Regions from separate parts of the Homo sapiens genome. Here region 2 is linked to region 1. Evidence: promoter capture Hi-C in 16 types of primary human blood cells and fetal thymus (Javierre and others, 2016). All regions are on one chromosome and are shown on one strand. Each heading gives the region's core, a stretch centred on a gene start or on the middle of the fragment in contact. The rest is flanking DNA. Distances are from core to core; before and after follow the strand shown. Region 1 holds the start of TARS1-DT (TARS1 divergent transcript). Region 2 holds the start of DROSHA (drosha ribonuclease III).

Evidence for each region. The method cuts DNA at HindIII sites, captures the fragments that hold promoters and counts their contacts. A CHiCAGO score of 5 or more calls a contact.
Region 2: the fragment with the promoter of DROSHA here is called in contact with the fragment with the promoter of TARS1-DT in region 1 in 2 of 17 cell types (naive CD8 T cells and total B cells); the score reaches 5.9 in naive CD8 T cells.

Annotation. Positions count from the first base shown.
Region 1 is chr5:33,438,617-33,442,761 of GRCh38, forward strand. TARS1-DT (TARS1 divergent transcript) reads right to left here and starts at 2,018. Exons shown (of 3, transcript XR_001742630.2): 1 at 1,589-2,018. It overlaps TARS1 (threonyl-tRNA synthetase 1), which reads left to right and starts at 2,349. Exons shown (of 19, transcript NM_152295.5): 1 at 2,349-2,527. The coding sequence starts at 2,471. RefSeq lists enhancers at 1,695-2,282, 1,937-2,246, 2,347-2,536, 2,797-2,856, 2,871-3,457. The HindIII fragment of the contact is 5,282 bases long and covers 787-4,145 here.
Region 2 is chr5:31,529,837-31,533,981 of GRCh38, forward strand. It overlaps DROSHA (drosha ribonuclease III), which reads right to left and starts at 2,257. Exons shown (of 36, transcript NM_001382508.1): 1 at 2,154-2,257; 2 at 1,614-1,689; 3 at 962-1,088. C5orf22 (chromosome 5 open reading frame 22) reads left to right here and starts at 2,465. Exons shown (of 9, transcript NM_018356.3): 1 at 2,465-2,637. The coding sequence starts at 2,557. RefSeq lists enhancers at 2,337-2,506, 2,537-2,586, 2,637-2,686. The HindIII fragment of the contact is 13,099 bases long and covers 1-4,145 here.

The DNA of each region.
Region 1 (4,145 bases), core at 768-3,267:
ATATACACACACACACACACACACACACATATGTATATGTGTATACATATATATGTAATCTGCAAATTAGGTAGCTAATATTGCATAACTCTGTTCTCCTAGCACCTTTTCAAGTTACCCTTAGCCTTTGTCAGGACCTCGCTAGACTAGATTCTTTACCTAGAAGGATAGCCCAAACCTTCCTTCCTTCCTTGTCTTTGTTGGGTTCCCAGAGTTTTCCAACAGCGAAACATTAGACAAGGAAGTACTAAAAAAGGTCTCAGTGAATCTCCTGGGTTCTTGACAAAATTCTCCTTTATGTAGAAGAAACCCGCTTGTCCCCTTGTAATCAGGATCAATCACTCTGGACAGAAAAACAACCCCCAATTCTGCCTGTGAGTGTAGCAGTACGTGAAGCCCCACATAGGGTGTACTCTTAGGCCAACTGATCAGAACCATTACTGTGCATATATATATATATAATATATGTATATACATATACGTATGTGTATATGTGTGTGTGTGTGTATATATATATATATATACACATATATAGTAAACTTGCTTAGCTCTAAATACACACATAGTGAAAGAACAAGTTGAACCGGTAAGTTCTACCAAGAACCACATGAAACTACCAGCAGACACTATTGTAAGCGCCAAGGGGACCTTTCTCCTTGGCCCTCTGAGGTTTGGCTGAAAATCACTAACATGAGGAACATTAATAGAAAAAACATACAAATTTACTTAACGTGTATACACAGGAAGAATCACAGCGTGATTACCCACCCCTCAGAGGGCTTCAGAAGCTTGTGGATACAATCCCAGCGACACAGGTTATGATAGGGAGAAGAGGAATTCTGTTGAGGGATTACAAAGGAGAATGAATGTATCAGGAACACATTAATTTGTACAACATCTTGTGAAAGGGTCTGCTCAGGTGTGATTACTACATTCTTGGTCTTACAGGGAGGCAACAAAAACAATTATGTTCCTTGTGATGTGTCTAAACTTTATCCTTTGCTTTGGCAGAGATGGCGTGGGGATTTAGGGGAGTGGGACCTTGAGGCTTCTTCAGTTCAGATGTCAAAACGCCATTATTTGGGGGTATGTTTCTGCGCCTCCAACACTGTTTAACAGGGAGGCTTGTTTCATCCAGTAAGGGAGTCAAGAAATGGTTCCCCGAAGAAAACGATTCTTGAAATCTGACAATAAATGAGGTGTCAAACAGGCAAAAAGTGTGTCGGAATGAGCACGGATGAGGGTAGGGTGGAAAAATCTTGGTACTTAGTCTGTGGGAAGACCTGAGGAAAAAAAGCCACTACAGTTTATAGTTCAGTGTATGGTGGGCGAACGAGATGAAGCCGAAAACTTGGACAATCAGGGATTGTCCAAGAGCAAGGGAAAGCCACCAAAGATTTTTCAGCAGATTGCCGTGATCATATTTGTATTTGAAGACTACAACGATGCTGTATGAAAAATGGATGCACAAAGCCGAATTGGGAAGCTATTGTTCCTGGAAAGTATAACCCTGAAGGCGGAGAGTTGTAGAGAACAGAACTGATGTTTAAAAAGAAAAATCCACAAAACGTGGTGGTGGAGCACGTACCTGAAGTTATGCCTATTGCGCTTCTGATTTCAAATAAGTAATTGTTTTAAATTGCCTACTAACATAAAAAAGCCCAGTCGATTCCAAACACTGGCACCCAGGCGTGAGAATCCATGGTTATTTCCTTGGGTGAGCTTTATTGTATTTTTGCGGGCGCTATGGAAATGCTCCTCCAGGCAGTACAGATCAGCAGCGGCTCGTAGTGAAGAACGTTCAAGGAAGAGTTTGTCCCGGATCAACAGGACATGGGGCTTGGGAAGCCTGGACTGCCATGAGGAAGGTCGATTCACCACTACAGACAGGGAGCCTGAGGCCTGGGTGGTGCCGACAAGTCGGCAGTCACGCCAGGTCAGGAAGCGCCGAAGCCGCGGGAAACCCTGGACTCCATCCCGGGATTTGTCCCCGTGTCGAAGATGGTATCCAGGTCGCCGAAAACTTCCCGGAAGTTTAGACCAAGACCTACTTATTATCTACGGTGTCCGGGAAGGTCCATGATTGTTCCACATAAAGTCAGAAGGGAGGAAAGGCGCACGCGCATTGGGGACTTGACTCTGGAAAGCGTCCAGACCAAGGTCAGCGGAGAGTAGGCATGTAGCTTCTGCAGTTGCTCCTCCTCACCCTCCGCGACCTGATTTCCTAGAAGGGCTCTGTCACCCGAAAAGATTTTCCACTGGCTTAGAGGAGGGAGGGCCCGCCTTCCCCCGTTATCCATTGGCTGCTCGTTCCGCCGCAAGTTGGGGGCGGGGTTAGGGCGCCTTTCGATTGCATCAGCTGGTCCAGCCGAGGCCAAGTCCCGGGCGCTAGCCCACCTCCCACCCGCCTCTTGGCTCCTCTCCTCTAGGCCGTCGCTTTCGGGTTCTCTCATCGCTTCGTCGTTCGCCAATGTTTGAGGAGAAGGCCAGCAGTCCTTCAGGGAAGATGGGAGGCGAGGAGAAGCCGGTGAGCAAACTTGGTGGGACCCAGAGACCAGCCTGGGACTCTAGTGGGTGCAGACGCTACGCTCGCGGCGGGAGCGGGGGGCAGGAAGCAGGAAGCGGCCGGGACCGCGTGGGTCGGAGAAGTGGGGGATGGTGGGACTCCTGGAAAGTCGGAACCCCCTTTGGGAACCATCCATTCATAAATTAGGGTGGGGCCTTGCAGTTCATCTGTGGGTCCATTCTCTTTACAGATGAGGAAACAGACCTTGAGTGAGCGACTTGTTCAGAGCCTCACATCTACAGTAGTTAGACGCGGAGACAGAATCAGAATCTTAGGCTTGAGGCTTCCAAACTTGCGTTTATGGCTTACTGTAAGCGGGAAACACATTGCAGAGCCTTATTTAATCAATCTCCTAAGATCCTGCGGGGGTAAAGAGCTCCATTTTAAGGAAAGGAAAACCGAGTGCCCGAGATCTGACCCAGCTTGTCCAAGTTTGGGTGGTTAAGTATACATTTTGCCCGGCACTGATCTGGGCGGTGCATGTGGGAAGATGAATAGGGCCCAGTTCCCCGACTTTGAGGGCCTCACAGGCTGATGTGTAAGAGACAGGAAAACAGCCCTAGTGCTTTGTGATCAACCTTGTGGTATTACAGAAGAGGAAGTTTAGGAAGGCACTTTAGAATTTAGTTTGGAAGAATGATTTCACCAGGTAAACAGGCAGGACGGGGCTTCCCACGTAAAGGTAGGGAAGGCAGTGAAAAGGGGCACGCAGGTGAATTGTCTTTCGGGTTGTTTGCAAGAGATATGCCAGAAGGGTTAAAGGAACAGTAATCAGAAGGATCTTAGGCAACAAGGATGTTTGAAACTTGTATTCTATACATGAAGGATCTTAAGCAGGAAGATTGTATTTGTAAAAGTCACGCTGGCATTGGGATAGAAGGTTAGGCCACATGCAGAAGGCTGTTGTAATAGTCCAAGTGAGAAGTGGTGACGTCTTCAGCTAAGGGATCCTCTATCCCAAGTCTGTGACAGGACAGTTCACTTAAAAGCCAAATTTTTTTCTTGATTGTCCACTCGAGATTGAATGGAGAAACTGCATACGGGCACATTCTAACTATGTAAATTTAATTCTAGATGATAAATGGTGACTATACGTAGATTTTTTTCACATAAAATGATATTTTTACTGTTTTGTAACTTTTTTTTTTTTTTTTTTTTTTGCTTAATAGAATGTGGTCAACAACTTTCCATGTCCATAAATATTCTCCTGTGCTATTCTTAATTGGACGTGATATGTATGGTTAACACATATGTAATTTTTCCTTCCTGTAATAATTATACAATAGTTAATATTTATTTTGAGTACTAAATACGAGTTTGGCACTGTATTAATGCATTCCATGAATTAACTCATTCAGTCTTCTTTTTTTTGAGACGGAGTCTCGCTCTGTCACTCAGGCTGGAGTGCCGTGGTGCGATCTCGGCTCACTGCAAGCTCCACCTCCCGGGTTCATGCCATTCTCCTGCCTCAGCCACCAGGCCTGGCTAATTTTTTGTATTTTTAGTAGAGACGGGGTTTCACCGTGTTAGCCAGGATGGTCTCGATCTCCTGACCTCGTGATCCGCCCGTCTCGGCCTC
Region 2 (4,145 bases), core at 1,007-3,506, 1.9 Mb before region 1:
TTAACACACCAGTTAATGATTCTTAATTTTCATTCTCAGTTCCTCCCACATAAAAACACTGTAAACATGAATGATTTTCCAAATACTTGAACTTCAGCAAAACATTTTTTAAAAACTCACATAAATATTGAGTACAAAAAGCTGTAACATAGAAACATTTTCTGAAAGTCTTTCTAAAAGTCTCATCAATAGAACTTTACTATGTAGACTTTCAAATGGCTCATGAAAATAATTTCAGATTATGCTAGCAGTCAGTGTGCTTAATAAATAATAGGCACCAAATAATATCTGATTTTTTTTTTAAGACACAAAGTCTACTCTGTCCCTAAGCTGGAGTGCAGTGGTGCAATCATAGCTCACTGCTGTCTCTTACTCCTGGGCTCAAGCAATCCTCTCACCTCAGCCTCCAAAATAGCTGGAACTACAGGCGTGAGTCACTGCGCCTGACTCCTTATTACTATTATCCAGTCCAGTACCCTCATGATAAACCTGGGGCCCGGACAGGTGCTCCTGCCACCATAGGCTACTCACTGCCAACAGAATCAAGTTCAACCTCTGTGCTTGGCATTTAAGGCTCTATTGACTCTGGACCCAGGCTTGTTCTCCAGTACCTTCCCCAGAAAGACCCTACTACCCCATGTTTTCCCAACAGATTACCATTCGAGTACAAAGAACCAGCTAGTTCTTTGCTCCCGTTCTCCTCTCTAAAATCTCCCACCCTAGGCAGAGGTTGCAGTGAGTTCAGATCGCGCCATTGCACTCCAGCCTGGGCAACAAGAGCGAAACTCTAGCTCAAAAAAAAAAAAAAAAAAAAATCTCCCAACGTATGAATCTGCCCAGTGATTTTCTATCCATCTATCAATCTTAAATGCCACCTCCTCTATGAAGCCCTTCCTGATTCCCTTAGGTAATCCCATTCCCTCTAGACTTAGTCTATACTTAATCCTTTTACAGCACTTACCAGAGACTGCCTCATATCATAGTGAAGTATGCACACGTCTAACTCTTCCACTAGATTATCAGCTCCTTGATGATATGGGTTGATTCACAGTCATTTCTGTATCCTTCACATCCCCGGGAAAAGCAACCTACACACAGTAGGTGGTCAATAAATGTTTACTCTCTCACCAATAGTATGTTTCCATGTTGCTACTGTACATTTCCCTTCCATGTACCTCCGCAACAGAAAGCAGGCCTTTTCACTGAGTCATGCAATATTTAATGAGCCCATAAATGGGAAGCACTGTCCCAGGCCCTGTAGACTCAGAGATAATAAGACACACAGCCTGTAGGATTCAAGGAACTCAGAACCCACGTACAAGTAAGTGTTTTAAAAATACAAAATAATGCAATAAACACACAAAAAAGAGGTATGTGCAGGGCTTAGGGGAACACAAAGGTGTGTGCCGCACCTAGAGGTGGGCAAAAGTCAGGGTCACGAACACTCTTGTACAGTGTGTAACAAGAGCTGAACATTCACTGCCAGATCCTCATGGATGTTTCAGTAGTTAGAAAATCTAAAAATACTAATCATGAAATTGACCTATTGAAGGCATAGTCCGGCTGTGTTGTGGATGCAGACTTTAATTCAAAAGTCAAGGAATTCACTGCACCTGGAAAAGTAACTCTCTTTTCTCCGTCTGTCTCTTCTCGGTTGCGGTTTGGAAACAGAGACACTGAAGGAGCTGTCTTGAATAGTTAACACGGCCAGAACGTCAGTGCATGTAAAAAGAATTTTAAAGTGTGACTACATTTTTATTGAGAACTCCCTCTTTCCCCAGGTGGATCTGCAGGGCAGTCACCTTCATCCTGATCCATAACTGCACATTTACTGTTTGCATCTCCCGCCAGACGGTACGCCCCACGAGGCAGGCGCTGAGCTCAGGATCTCACTCCCCTCCGAGAGCCGGGCGGCCCCAGGCCTGGACCATAGTGTGTGCTCCACAAATGAATGAAAGGTCTCCTTTTTCACTTCCACTTATTTGCGGGATCCAGGCCTAGCGTCGCTCTTTTGCCCTTAGCTGCAGATCTGAAGTGGGGCTGCCCGACCCCAATTCCCGGACGCTTTTCACCCCAGCCCCGGAGACTCCAGCCCCGTTTAAATCCTGACACTCGGAAACTCTCTTCTAACACTTGCAAGGTACCCCTTTTACCTATAAAAGGCTCTCGGGCCGCGAGATCGCCGTCAGAGCAAAGCCAGGCTACTACCGCAGGTACCAAGACAGTGGCACCGCCCGCGCCTCCGGAACAGGAAACCGAGGGAATTAAAAAGCAAACCTGAGAAAGCTGGGCCAAGGGAGGGAAAACTCTTCAGCCCACCGCAGGGCCTTGTGCGCGGTGATTGGCGCGTCAACGAAAGCGATGGACGTCTAGACCAATCGTCAGCAAAAGACCCTTTGGAGCCCGCGCCCCCTCCCCCTACGTCCTCCAATCCGAAAACGCAACCGGGTGAGGGAGCGCTTCCGCCCGGAGAGAGCTGGCCGGGATGAGGCGCCGGCTTTCCCGGGTCTTCTCCAGCTGCCACCGCTTTACTGCAAAACTGACGGGCGCAAAAACATGAGTGACTCCGCGGGAGGGCGCGCTGGTCTCCGGCGTTACCCCAAGCTCCCAGTGTGGGTGGTGGAGGATCATCAGGAGGTGAGCGGACGGCAACAGGGCTCTGGGGCAGAATCAGCGGAAGCCCTGACGCTCAGAGGGCCAAGCAGAGGGCGCAACCTTAGCATCGGAGGCCAGAGAGTTAACCAGAGTTAAACTGCCCTATTCCGTTGCTGTGGAGAGGACCCCAAAACAGCTAACTAGGAAGAATGAGAACTGACATTTATGGGCGCTTCCTACGAGTCGGGGCAACTTATTTACCTCGGTTTGCCCCCAAATCCCAGAACCAAACAAAAGGTGGCATCGGGATTCGAAACCGGACAGTCTGGCTGCAGAGCCCTGTGTTCTTAACCTGCAGTTAACTCTGGCTTCCAAGTATCTCCTGGAATCGCCACCACAGCCCTGCTGTTTAGATGGGAGGCTTTATGCTTGGAACGTGGGCTCTGATCTGAAATGGGGACAGTAATCGTAGGACTCACAGGGCTCTTAGGAGTATTATTGTGTGCATACTGTGTTTAAAAATCTTTTTTTTTTCTTTTTTGAGACGGAGTCTCTCTCTGTTACCCAGACTGGAGTGCAGTGGCGCGATCTCGGCTCACTGCAACCTCCGCCTCCTGGGTTCGAGCGATTCTTCTGTCTCAGCCTCCTGAGTAGCTGGGATCACAGGCACGCATCACCGTACCCAGCTAATTTTTGTATTTTTAGTAGAGACGGGGCTTCGCCACGTTAGCCAGGATGGTCTGAAAGTCTGACCTCACGTGATCGGCCCCCGCCGGCCTCCCAAAGTGCTGGGATTGCAGGCGTGAGCTACTGCGCACGGCCCATATTGCGTAAAAAAAAAAAAAAATTTAACACGGTGCCCTGCATAGATAAACACTAAAAGGGGTTTCCATGTTTATGGCCGTGCTGATTTACAGTAGCCAAATTGGTGTCTTAATCTAGACTTTTCCAAGTCAACAAAGGAGGCCCATGGATCTAATAAATATGTTTTAAAGTAGCATCAGTAGGCTTGGGATGGGAGGCAGTTCTCTGGACGTTAAAAAAGAAGAGGGATTTACTGTTGGTGACAGCTAATAGGAGAGGAAGATAGGTTTCTCAGGACCTGGATATAGTGTCTATGACCTTGAGAGAATGAGAAAGCCTAGGTTAGACGGTGCTTTCAAATTAGGTATTAAACCTAGAATTAGAGAAGATGTAAGAGGAGAAATGGCCTTTATAGACCACCTAGCCCAACCCCACCATTCTAAGTGTACCAAAAAGACCCTAACCAGCCTGGACAGCAGAGCGAAATCCCATCTCTACAAAAATAGAAGTGAAAAAATTAGCTGGGCGTAGTGGTGCGTGCCTGTAATCCCAGCTACTCAGGAGACTGAGGTGGGAGGATCGTGTGAACCCAGGAGTCCAAGGCTGCAGTGAGCCATGATCACACCACTGCTTTCCAGGCTGGGCAACTGACAAGCCCCTATCCCTTTTTAAAGGAAAAAAAAGAATACTTTGAGACCTAGGGTACCTTGAACACCTAGTTAATGTTAGAACAGGCATTAAGCGGT